Linked DNA regions of Homo sapiens: regions 2, 3 and 4 are each linked to region 1. Evidence: promoter capture Hi-C in 16 types of primary human blood cells and fetal thymus (Javierre and others, 2016). All regions are on one chromosome and are shown on one strand. Each heading gives the region's core, a stretch centred on a gene start or on the middle of the fragment in contact. The rest is flanking DNA. Distances are from core to core; before and after follow the strand shown. Region 1 holds the start of GGA3 (golgi associated, gamma adaptin ear containing, ARF binding protein 3). Region 2 holds the start of GALK1 (galactokinase 1). Region 3 overlaps MYO15B (myosin XVB). Region 4 holds the start of ERLN (endoregulin).

Region 1 (2,971 bases), core at 239-2,738:
TTTATTTGTTCCTTTTTTTTTAATTGTGTGTTTACTTCCGAAACACCAAGGAATGGCAGTTGCTGACTCTTACAGGGCTTCATTAAAGCCCGTACACATGCAGGGAAGTTAATCTGAATAATAGATACATGAATCCATTTGCTCTTAAGCTACACTGAAAGTACCAAGTACAAGGCTACGGGGTAGGGGGGCAAGAAAGATGACTGAGGAGGGAAGTGCTGTTTACCTGAATCATGAGGGATCTGGCCAGTACTTTGTTTCCTCCTATCATCATCATGTTGGTGAATTTACTTCAAAGAGAAAAGCAACACGTTTAGCTCTCCAAGGCTGTATCACAGAATCCTCACCAGAAACCCTCCCTGGGATAGTCCCAGTCCATGTAACAAGTGTTTGTTTCCATCTAACCTGATGACTGGGTCTTCAAACACAGAACTTGTTTTCCCTGCTGGAGCAGCTTTGATGAGCTGAGTCTTCTTGAGCTCCCGAACATATTTCTCCTCCTCAGTTAGCTCCTCCACTGGCTTGCGATAATATTCCTTGTCAATCAAGGGATCCTTGAATTCAGGACTATAGCGGCTCCATCTCACCTGAGTTAGCCTGGGAGGGGGGGAAAGGAGGAGGCAGGCAAAAGCTGACTCCACAAGCGAGTAGGTTTGACTTAACAATAGGCATGACTGCCAACGCGCCGACGAGGGGGAGCGGCGCGGAGACCGCGAGCTAAACCTGAGCCACAACAATTCAGGCCCTTGTCCCAAGTAGGAGGACATTCCCCAAGCAGGCGGGTAAAGTCTCCTCCTGGTCAAGTGCTAACGGTAAGGATGGGCTTGGCGCCTACACACCCATCCCAATTCACAGGCGATCCCAGATCTGAGCTCTTTAGCTGAACCGCACTTTCAGCTCCGCGTTAGAACCCTAGATCAGCCAGACTCCTTAGGCGAGAGGTAGTCACTAAACCTTCGGATTGGCGCAGGGTCACGCAGCTAACTTAGAAGCTTGAATCCAGATACTCCGGCCCCCAGGGCAATGCTCTCTCTAGGGGCCCACGCGGCCTGCCTGTGGCCCCCTTCCTTCCTCGCAGCGCCCCCCCGCCGCTGCTCGCCACCCTCTCACCCTGGAAGCTGCAAGACAGCCCGCCGCACGCCCAACGCCAGGCCCGACCATCCTCGGGCAACCTTCACTGCGGGGGCAGCCATCTTGGCTGGCCACGAGGACCCCACAAGGACTGCCCTCGGCGCGCCTGAGCGAGTGACGGGAAACGGGTGAAAAAGACTCCTCAGGGTCCTAAATCTGCGTTTCTCTCCACTGATCTGGACGTTAGAGTTTTTCACTCCGGGGTCCAAAGGGGAGCGCCAAAAGGAAACCCTTGCCCTCCCTGTATCCGTCGCAGTCTGGCGCGGCCCTCGGTGACGGCACTCACTCCTCTCAGGACCCCATGCAGGCCCCGCCCCGTCTCAGCTCGTGCAGACTCTCGCGAGTTTTGAAGCCGCGGGGCCGGGCGGCTGCAATATGGCGGAGGCGGAAGGGGAAAGCCTGGAGTCCTGGCTCAGTGAGTAGCCGCGGCCGTTTCTGCCTGCCCTCGAGCCGCTGGGCTGCCCCTGTCTTCACCCCCACGTCCCCTCCCCGGGCTCCACGGCGTCGCCTCTTGGCAGCCCACGCCCGGTCTCGCCCTCGCCGCGAGCAGCCTGCGATCACGCCCCTTCCCTATCAGGGCGCCGGGCCCCAGTCCGGCCCCCGCTTCCCTCGCTGCGGCGCGTCCTCTTGCTCTGGCGCGCGGCGGCGTGAACTCGGGCTCCTGTCGGGCACCGCAGGCTCGGGGAAAGGCGACAGCCAAGATCTTCGGGCTGACATGCTTCGGCGCTTTGGGGAGATTGTGGTGGGGTCGCCGCCCGGCGGTGACACCAGGAACCCAGCGCCCCAATCCCTGACTAAGGGAGAAGCTTCGGATTGGGGCTGAGTCTCCGGTAGTGGTGGGTGCTGCCGACTGCGTTCAGTCGCCTGGCAGCTTCAGAATTGTGACCATGTGTTGGAGAAGTGACGGCTTCGCTCAGGCAGAATGCTTGAAGTGAGAATAATATTCCAAAGAGAGCGATGATAGAGAACAGAGAGCTCTACCTTTTTCCTGCAGTGACCACAGAAGCATGGTGAAATCGGTGTCGGGAATTCCCCCCCCACACACATACATATACCCCCTTGAATATCCTAACGAGTCAGTGTTGATAGCCTATTCTGAGTAAGGCTGAGGAGCACAGTCTGAAGCTGTAGTTATAGAAGCGTATTGCTGTCATTGCACTGTGAATTACAGTGCTACGAAGGAAATGTGTGTTAACCTGGTTAGCAGGTAGTACTCTGCCTGAGGGTTAATAAGTGAACTTTCCTGTAGGCTAGACCTGGAAGCCTCCTTTAAGTGGAGAGAGAAATTGGACTGGTAATGGGATAGGTGAGATACCTAGTATTGCCTTGTTCTGAGGTCTCTTATTTAGTACTGCTTCCGGGATCTTGGAGGTGATAGCTATTTCCTCAAATTGTCTGATTTTTCCTAGTAAGAAACCCCCTTCAGGAGGTTGAGCTTCAGTTTAAAGGGGAGCATATCCCAAAAGAGAGAAAAAGTAAGATCACGTTTGCAAAATCTGCAGTTGCAGGCAGGTCATAAGGCTTCTTTATATATGGAAGTGTTCTCCAAGGAGCTCAAAGTACTTTACAGATATTCATTAAATTAGTTTACCAAGTATTCTAGCAAAGCAGGCACTACTGCCATAATTTCACAAAAAGAGGACATCCTGACTCCAGTCAAACCACTTGCCCAGAAATGCCCAACTTGCTATAACCAGAGTGGAATTAGTTTGCTTTGAAGGTATTAATATGGGTATTGAATAATTTAAATGACCTAAGCTGAGTTTAATAGGCTACATTTAGAGTTACATTTTGTTTTTGTTACTTGTTTTTGAGACAGAGTCTCGCGCGCTGTTGTCTA
Region 2 (2,924 bases), core at 342-2,841, 500 kb before region 1:
CAGCACTTTGGGAGGCCAAGGTGGGTGGATCACCTGAGGTCAGGAGTTTGAGACCAGCCTGGCTAACCTGGTGAAACCCCAGTCTCCACTAAAAATACAAAAAATTAGCCGGGCATGGTGGCACGTGCCTGTAATCCCAGCTACTCCGGAGGCTGAGGCAGGAGAATCGCTTGAACCCGGGAGGCAGAGGTTGCAGTAAGCTGAGATCACGCCATTGCACTCCAGCTTGGACAACGAGAGCGAAACTCCGTCTCAAAAACAGAAACCAAATAAACATTTCCTAACCAATGTCACAAAACTGTACCCCTATGTTTTCTTCTAAGAGTTTTCAGAATTGCCCTTGGAATGCAGTTCCCCACTCTTTGGGCACACCCCTGAGCAGGCCCCAAGCTAAATCCCTGGCCATAACTCCCCACACTACTCCCACCCTAACCCCAAGCAAGCTGCTTACATTTCAGTCTTTCAGTTTCAAGGTTCCATGTAGGGTGGGCAGCTGTGGACAGGTATCAAGGCAGCAGTTGGGGCCGGCCAGCAGGTTTAGGATGCAGGATAGCAAGAGAAGAGTGCCTGACTGGGAACAAGGCCACGCCTCTGAGACAAGGGCTTCTGGGCTGAAGTAGTGCCTGCTGGGGCCAACAGCACAACCTACCTGGACAGCTGTGGCAGGTCCTTAAGGGAGGGGCTGGGCCCACTGCTGGCCACCGCCACCCTAGTCCAATTCTCCATTGCTAGGAGCTGTTGCGTATTACCTAGAAAAGGAGCTTGTAAAATTGACTCTCTGGTCACCACCAAACTTGTCTTTTTTTTTTTTGAGACAGAGTTTTGCTCTTGTTGCCCAGGCTGGAGTGCAATGGTGTGATCTCAGCTCACCGAAACCTCCGCCTCCCAGGTTCAAGTGATTCTCCTGCCTCAGCCTCCCGAGTAGCTGGGATTACAGGCATGAGCCACCATGCCCAGCTAATTTTGTATTTTTTAGTAGAGATGGGGTTTCTCCATGTTGGTCAGGCTGGTCTCCAACTCCCGACCTCAGGTGATCTGCACACCTCGGCCTCCCAAAGTGCTGGGATTACAGGCGTGAGCCACTGCGCCCGGCCCAAACTTGTCTGTCTTTATCTCTACTTACAGTGAGTGTCAGGTCACCCTCTTGGAGACCGGTGATCAGAGGCTGATGACCTCTCACAGCTGCTGGCCCTGGGGACCTAGGGGATCCCTTTGGGAATCCCAGGTCAACCGGGTGCCAGCTCCATTGCTCTGGCTGTGTGGGTGGTGGTGGGTGGTGAGGCACATAGAAAGTCACCAGCGCCAGGGAAGGGCAGCTCAGAAATCCTGGTCATGCCAAGTGCCACTCAGGGCTATTCTCACTCTAGTGAGTGCTCATTGGTTCTTCCCGAAGTCCAGAGGGAAGGACACCATCGGGGGCGCTGTATCCCACCCGGCACCATTAGCCCCTGCCACCCACCACCCAGCAGCTGGATTCCCACGGGAGTTGCGGGTGGGGGCGGAACCGGCTGAGGTCTGGGGGCGGGGCGTCCGGGCGCGGGGCGGGGCTGGCGGGAATGTGCGCACCCCCGCGCGGGGCCCCGCCCGAGCATCCCGCGCCGACGGGGCTGTGCCGGAGCAGCTGTGCAGAGCTGCAGGCGCGCGTCATGGCTGCTTTGAGACAGCCCCAGGTCGCGGAGCTGCTGGCCGAGGCCCGGCGAGCCTTCCGGGAGGAGTTCGGGGCCGAGCCCGAGCTGGCCGTGTCAGCGCCGGGCCGCGTCAACCTCATCGGGGAACACACGGACTACAACCAGGGCCTGGTGCTGCCTATGGTGAGGGGCTGCACGGGGAGCCCCTAGCCCGCCGCCGCCTGTCCCGGCCGCCGAGGAGGGCGGGCCTCGGGGACGCTGGGGGCGAGTTCTTCCCGCGGGAGATGTGGGGCGGGCAGCTGCGCCTGGAGCACCGGTGCACGGAAGAGTCCCCGGGACAGGCTGTTCCCCACGTTGGAAGGGAGGAAGCGAGGAAGTGGCCGGGAGAGGGTGCGCGGCCGCCTCTTGGCTCAAGCCCGCCCTCTGGGGGCTGGGGCTCCTCGCCTTCAACCTGGGAGCATGTTCCCCTTAAACTGTGAGGCCCTGTGTGCCACGCAGAAGGGGACACTCCGCGCCTCCGGCCACCGTGGGGCCCCAACCGCAGACCTGGGCGAACGTAGCCTTCTGGCCCAGCCCGTTCAATTTACAGAGGAGGAAACTGAGGCCTAGAGAGGCCCAGTGAACTGCTGGAGGTCACACAGCAGGTTCTTGGCGGGGCTGCGACTTGGGAGTGAGGACTCCCAGCTTTCAGCGGGGGGCGCTTTCCGCCCCATCTGCAGCTTGGGGAGTGCACAGGTACAGGATGTCCAGAGCCACCCCAAAATGTAAAGGCTTTGGAGCTCCAGTGATCTGTTTTCCCTTTGGGCTAGCTCTCCCCCTTGCCCCACAGCTCAGGGCAGAGTCCAGGTCTGTGCTCCAGCTGCAGCCGCCCCGCCCCTGAAGACCTAAGGGGGCAGGGCTCAAGCCCCCAAGGTCAGCTGGCCCTCAGGATCTTCCCTGCGACGCTGAACCTGGAGGTTCAGAACCTGATGACTGTGGAGGCATCAGAACCTCGGCTGGAGGCAGTGTCATTGGAGAGGCTTACTCCAGCTGGCGGAAGCCTCACGTACTGCTTGTCTCTCCTGCCAGGCTCTGGAGCTCATGACGGTGCTGGTGGGCAGCCCCCGCAAGGATGGGCTGGTGTCTCTCCTCACCACCTCTGAGGGTGCCGATGAGCCCCAGCGGCTGCAGTTTCCACTGCCCACAGCCCAGCGCTCGCTGGAGCCTGGGACTCCTCGGTGGGCCAACTATGTCAAGGGAGTGATTCAGTACTACCCAGGTATGGGGCCCAGGCCTGAGCCAAGTCCTCACTGATAC
Region 3 (2,925 bases), core at 267-2,766, 330 kb before region 1:
GGCATCAAAGGCACTTTCCACGGGCAGGGATCGCGAGACCTGGCCATAGGGCGTCTCCTGGAGGGCAGAGGAGGCACAGCTGGTGTGTCAGGCCTGCAGCCCTCATGGTGCTTACTCAGCCTGTGGGTCAGCCAGGCCAGGCCCCTCTCCCCAGGACCCTCGGGCTCACCGTGACCCTCCTGGTGACAGCCCCCTCCAGGCACTCTGGTGGTACCCGCAGCAGTCGGGCTGCTGTGTGGATCTCAGCCCAGCTAGACACAGCAGCCACCTCCTGGGACTCTCGCTACACAGAGAGGGAGGGACAGGGAGATCTCTGCTTCAGGAATGGACACACTCCCCAGGCAGGGCAGGCCGGGCTTTGCCTGGTAAGTGGCCCTGTCACCAAAGGGGAGATATGTCACATGAGGAGATCTGGGCCATTAGGAGCGAGGCTATGGTTTTCAGGGCCCTGAGTTCGAGTCCTACTTTCCCTCTTTGCTGGCGGACAGTTCTGGCCAGGCTCCTTCCTTCCTGCGCCCCACGGCCTCACTGCTAAAGGGGAAGCAGTAACCCTTCCTAGGGGGTTGTCTTGCAAACTAAATTAGAAAACAAATGCAAAGTGATTTACACAGTACCCAGGTACATAACAGCTGCTCGTTTGATTTTTTTTTTTCTTTTTTTTTTTTTTTGAGACAGGGTCTCACTCTGTTACCCAGGCCTGAATGCAGTGGCACGATCAAGGCTCACTGCAGCCTCCACCTCCCAGGATCAGGTAATTCTTCCACCTCAGCCTCCCCAGTAGCTGGGATTACAGGCACATGCCACCATGCCCAGCTAATCTTTTTTTTTTTTTTCTTCTGAGACTGAGTCTCGCTCTTGTTGCTCAGGCTGGAGTGCAATGGCATAGTCTTGGCTCACTGCAACCTCCACCTCCCAGGTTCAAGCAATTCTCCTGTCTCAGCCTCCTAAGTAGCTGGGATTATAGGCATGTGCCACCACACCTGGCTAATTTTGTATTTTTAGTAGAGACGGGGTTTCACCATATTGGTCAGGCTGGTCTCGAACTCCTGACCTCAGGTGATCCGCCCATCTAGGCCTCCCAGTGTGCTGGGATTACAGGCATGAGCCACCACGCCCAGTCTGTTTTGTTTTTTTTTTTTTTTCTGAGACGGAGTCTCGCTCTGTCACCTAGGCTGGATGGAGTACAGTGGCGCAACCTCAGGTCACTGCCACCTCCACCTCCCGGGTTCAAGCAATTCTCCTGCCTCAGCTTCTCTAAGTAGCTGGGATGTGCCACCACATCCAGGCACGTGTCACCACACCCAGCTAATTTTTGTATTTTTAGTAGAGACAGGGTTTCAGCATGTTGGCCAGGCTGGTCTCAAACTCCTGACTTCAAGTGATCTGCTCGCCTTGGCCTAATCTGTTCATATTTTTTGTAGAGACAAGATTTTGCCATGTTGCCCAGGCTGCTCTAGAATTCCTGGGCTCAAGTGATCCACCCACCTCGGCCTCCCAAAGTGCTAGGATTACAGGTGTGAGCCACCACCGCCAACCCTTTTTTTTTTTTTTTTTTTTTTTAATAGAGACGGGGTTTCTCTATGTTGCCTAGGCTGGTCTCAAACTCCTGGCTTCACACGATCCTCCTGCCTCGGCCTCCCAAAGTGCTGGGATCACAGGTGTGACCCACCATGCCTGACCATAGCTGCTCATCTAATGCCAGATGTTCTTAGGGGTGGCAGCTTAGAGGCACAGACATTGGGAGAGTGGAGAAGCTCTATGTCTCAGCTTTCTCATCTACACAGTGGGGATCTACCCACTTTTCAGGGCAGCCCAGCACTCTGTAGTCTCCTACACACCAGCATTTGGCGTCATTACCACTGCCCTGATTCTACAGACCCAGCACCCCAGATGGCCCCTGCCCACGGGGAAGCCCACCTCTGAGGAGGAGAAGCAGATGTTGCCCAGCTGCAGGATGGCGGCCAGCACAGCCCAGACGGCATTCAACTCCTCTGGGCACAAGCCGAGCCCCTGCAGTGCCTTCAGCAGCCCCTCAAAGTCCTGGGCATCCTCCTTGCCTTGCAGCCTGCAGGCCTGGCCCTGCAGAGCACAGCAGGGGTGAGGGAGCGGGGCCTGCCACCCCATAGCCTCCCTCTACTCCGGCTACTCCTCAGACCTCCGGGCCGAGATCCTCCTCTGGGCAGGCCTCCCCGCCGCACCACAAGGGCTCCCCCGACCTGGTTGAGGTAGTAGTAAGTCTCCGGTCCCTGCAGGGAGAGCCGCTCCCGCTCTATGGAGTCCAGCCCTGCCAGCAGCTTGTAAAAAACATGGAAGCTCCGCTCAGCCTGGGCCTTGGGGACAGGACTGGCTTAGGGGCTCAGTGCCCTAGGGGCTTAGAGGCCACACCCCGACAGTGACACCCTCTGCCCTTCCTACTCTGGGAACTGGGCAGGGGTGGATAGAAGGGCTGCCTTTACCTGAAACACCACCCTGGAGGTCTCAAGTAGATAATGAGACACAGAGGCTCCCACGATGACCCCTCTGTGGGCACAGAAGATGGGTGTGAGTGCCCAGGATGCAGAACACCCAGGGGCCCCGTGCAGAAGAAGCCCTACCAGGGTCTGGACCCCAGGGAAGCAGCCCAAGGACCCAGGAAGGGTAAGTGATTGTAGGTGCCCCCTGCAACCCTGCCACTCACTGCTGTAGGTAGAGGCAGAAGACCTGGCCGAAGCGGCTGGCATTGGCATTGAGGATGGTCTTGGCATGGCCAAAGCTGCTGAGTATAGGCAGCATATCCTCCACCTGTACAGGGAGGGGTGTTCAAGCATCCCTGGGCAGCAGTAGCCCCCACCAGCAGGCATCCCAGCTAGGGGCAGGTCCAGGGAGGCGTCAGTCCCATCAGAAAGGGCAGTGCCTGCAGCTGACCCCAGGAGACGCCAGAGGCCT
Region 4 (2,700 bases), core at 184-2,683, 380 kb before region 1:
AAGGAAGACACCAGGGCTTGGCCCCTGAGCCAGAGGGAACCGCGAAGGGGCCCACCACTGGAATGGGGGCAGGTCAGCTCGCCTCCCCTGCTGCCATCTCAGTCCCCAGCAAGTCAGGTCACTCCTCTTCACCCGCTTCACACTGAGTGTTTTCTGTGGAAGTGAGTAAACCAAACACGATGGCAAATAAGATGAGAAGCAGGACAGCGGTGATGAATAAGATAATCACTGCCAGGCCCCCCTGGTCCCAGGGGTTCTGCCAGAACGCATCATTCCAGATTGTCTCTTTGAATACCAGTTGGTCCATGAGAATCTGGAAAAGAGGGACAGAGGACCTGAGTGCAGGCAGCCCTCCCAGGCCCTGTCCCAGGTGCTATGCTCTGCCCGCCGACTCCAGCCTCTGTAGCAGCCTCTGTGAGCAGCCGGCCCGCCTGGCAGCCAGGGGACATGAAAGGGCTAGAGTCTTTGTGCTGGATGCCTGCAGCCAGCAGCAAATGGCATTTCCCCCGCTCTAGATACAGGAGCCAGGACTGGCGCAAGAAGTGGGGCCCTGGATTCTTCCTAGGGGATGCCCCTGGATTCTCCAGTCCTTCTTTCCTGAGTAGCAAGTGTGAGCAAGGACTCTCTCTCATCCCTGAGACCTACTTGGCTAGAATCTAAAAAGCATCATGATAGAGTCTCCCTGTTTTTCCTGCCCCAACTGCCAAACATTTGGGAGGCATTTGAGAGAGCGTATAGGAGCCGAGGAGGGGCCAACTCCAGCTGAGGCCTCGGTAGCCTCCTTGGAGCAGCTGAGAATAGAACTTAGGAGTCCTCTAGAAGCGGAGCTCCTTATCGCAGACTGCAAGCCCATAGCCAGGTGAGGGCAGCCCAGGTGGAGAAGGAGGGAGCCATTACCTGATTCTGCTGGTAGCTGTTCTGGGTCCTACAAGGGCAATTCAGGGTGGTCCTTCAGGCTCACACTTTGTGGAGGGCTGAGCTGAAGAGGCCGCCAGGTGACCAGAGCTGCACCCTGACTCAAAGAAGCAACTGTTGAGAGGAAAAGGCATGAGCGTGGCCAAGCGGCCCTGACCAGACCTTAGTTGCTGTCACCAAACAAACAAAGGTGGGCTAGGGCTGGTTGCCTGGCAACCACGGCTCCCTTTCTGCCTTTCACGTTCCCCCTTCAGCTCCTTTCTGCCCTTGTGTGATGTCATTTTGGGGGTGCTCAGGGCACGTGTTCATGAGTCCCTCCTGAGAGAAGTCAGACTTGGGGTGGACGGGGAAGAGACTGGACCGAGGGCCTTTGCCCCAGGCCATCAGGCCGCCTCACCTGTGGCTGGGCTGGGCTGTCCTCTGTCTGGGTGACGTGTGGACTGCGGACCTGCCCCGAGCTCAGGAAGCCCTGGGGCTGGGACTGGCGTAGGGCTCACTTCCTGTGTTGTGGGGTGAATGATTAACTGCAGCCCTGGCTGGCGCCTGGTGCCTCCTGGAACTGTTTCTGGGGGAAGTGTTGCTCCCCCCCTGAGGCTTCCCATTGGTGCCTTTGTCTGCTCCCTGGGCACGGCCTCAGCAACATTGTGTGGTTGGTTTCTGCCCACTGGCACAATAGGGAAGCTGGGAAGAGGGGATCAAGCCTGTGCCCTGGTGCTTGAAACCTAGTGGCCACCATATACTCCTTTAAAAGCTAGGATGTGAGGGCCCGCTATGGCCAGGAACCATGCCAGGCACTGTGTGTCCAGTTGTGAGATCAGAGAGGCGGGCCCTGCCCTCCAAGGGCTTCCCTTCTAGCCCTCGGGTGCTTATCCCAGCTGGTAAAGATCTAGGAGCTTTGAGAAATGCCCAGGCCCCACCTGGTACCACTTATATCAGTCTCTGGGGTTGCCAGGATGTCGTATTGTTTACACATCCCCAGGTGATTCTCCCCAGGTGTGGCCAGGGTTGGATGACAGATGGAGGCAGATTTAGAACAGTCGTTCTTAACTATCATGGGCGTCACTGACCCGGGTTACCTGATGTTTTCTGTTTCCTTGTGTGAAACTTACTGACTAAGGCCCTTGGCATGCTGAACGCTCACAGCAGTGGGCCAGTCTCTAGCTCACCCTTTGCGTGCAGCTCCGTCAGTTAAGTCAGATGCTTATCAAGAGTCAAGTGTTGGTTCCCAAACCTGTTCATGGCAGTTGTACTTGTAATTACATAATTGAATTTAACATCCCGGGAACCAATGAAGCAACAATAATAGCTGAAACCCCAATTTTACATGTGGGGAACGGGCACAGAGAGGTTAAATAACTTAGCCGAGGTCATCAGCTAGTAAGTAACTGAGTTGGAGTTTGAATCCAGCAGCACACAGTCTGAGCGCTGAAGCACCTGTGCTGCACCTCAGAGCGAGTGGAGAAAGAAATTCTTTCTAGAAATACCTATTGACTACTTTGGGATGACTTTGGAATCACTCAGATAATGTTCCTGTTGAAAAAGATGCAGACATGATAACTAAACATCAGGGACATTTTGTAAAAACCCAGAAGGTTTTCACACCCAGCTTCCTTTGCCTTTAAGTTCCAATGACTTTAAGTTTTTGTTCTGCTTTAAAGAAACCAAAACTAGAAAATAACAATCCAGGAGCTGTGGTTGGCAAGCCCACACTCAACCAAAACTAGAAGATAGCAATCCAGGAGCTCTGGTTGGCAAGCCCACACTCAGAGAAAAGGCCAGGAAGGC

What was found. Contacts are between HindIII fragments. The CHiCAGO score rates a contact against its expected background, and 5 or more counts as called.
Region 2: the fragment with the promoter of GALK1 here is called in contact with the fragment with the promoter of GGA3 in region 1 in 1 of 17 cell types (fetal thymus); the score reaches 6.6 in fetal thymus.
Region 3: a contact is called between a fragment that was not itself captured here and the fragment with the promoter of GGA3 in region 1, in 1 of 17 cell types (fetal thymus). The highest score is 5.2, in fetal thymus.
Region 4: a contact is called between the fragment with the promoter of ERLN here and the fragment with the promoter of GGA3 in region 1, in 1 of 17 cell types (endothelial precursors). The highest score is 5.1, in endothelial precursors.

What each region holds. Positions count from the first base shown.
Region 1 is chr17:75,260,123-75,263,093 of GRCh38, reverse strand. GGA3 (golgi associated, gamma adaptin ear containing, ARF binding protein 3) reads left to right here and starts at 1,488. Exons shown (of 17, transcript NM_138619.4): 1 at 1,488-1,546. The coding sequence starts at 1,507. It overlaps MRPS7 (mitochondrial ribosomal protein S7), which reads right to left and starts at 1,215. Exons shown (of 5, transcript NM_015971.4): 1 at 1,111-1,215; 2 at 406-597; 3 at 227-290. The coding sequence starts at 1,193. RefSeq lists enhancers at 429-1,306, 1,103-1,512, 1,983-2,082. The HindIII fragment of the contact is 945 bases long and covers 995-1,939 here.
Region 2 is chr17:75,763,859-75,766,782 of GRCh38, reverse strand. GALK1 (galactokinase 1) reads left to right here and starts at 1,591. Exons shown (of 8, transcript NM_000154.2): 1 at 1,591-1,811; 2 at 2,697-2,886. The coding sequence starts at 1,647. RefSeq lists silencers at 1,427-1,616, 1,847-1,996 and enhancers at 2,107-2,336, 2,367-2,576. The HindIII fragment of the contact is 22,999 bases long and covers 1-2,924 here.
Region 3 is chr17:75,591,833-75,594,757 of GRCh38, reverse strand. It overlaps MYO15B (myosin XVB), which reads right to left. Exons shown (of 64, transcript NM_001395058.1): 6 at 2,678-2,781; 7 at 2,457-2,520; 8 at 2,217-2,330; 9 at 1,918-2,079; 10 at 170-283; 11 at 1-57. Among named protein-coding and RNA genes, the nearest start is that of MYO15B, 5.5 kb to the right of the region's middle. The HindIII fragment of the contact is 5,609 bases long and covers 1-2,925 here.
Region 4 is chr17:75,644,984-75,647,683 of GRCh38, reverse strand. ERLN (endoregulin) reads right to left here and starts at 1,433. Exons shown (of 2, transcript NM_001162997.2): 1 at 898-1,433; 2 at 1-313. The coding sequence starts at 307. The coding sequence ends at 119. All of the region lies in intron 8 of RECQL5 (RecQ like helicase 5), which reads left to right. RefSeq lists enhancers at 1,115-1,194, 1,362-1,506 and a cis regulatory region at 1,428-1,441. The HindIII fragment of the contact is 6,633 bases long and covers 1-2,700 here.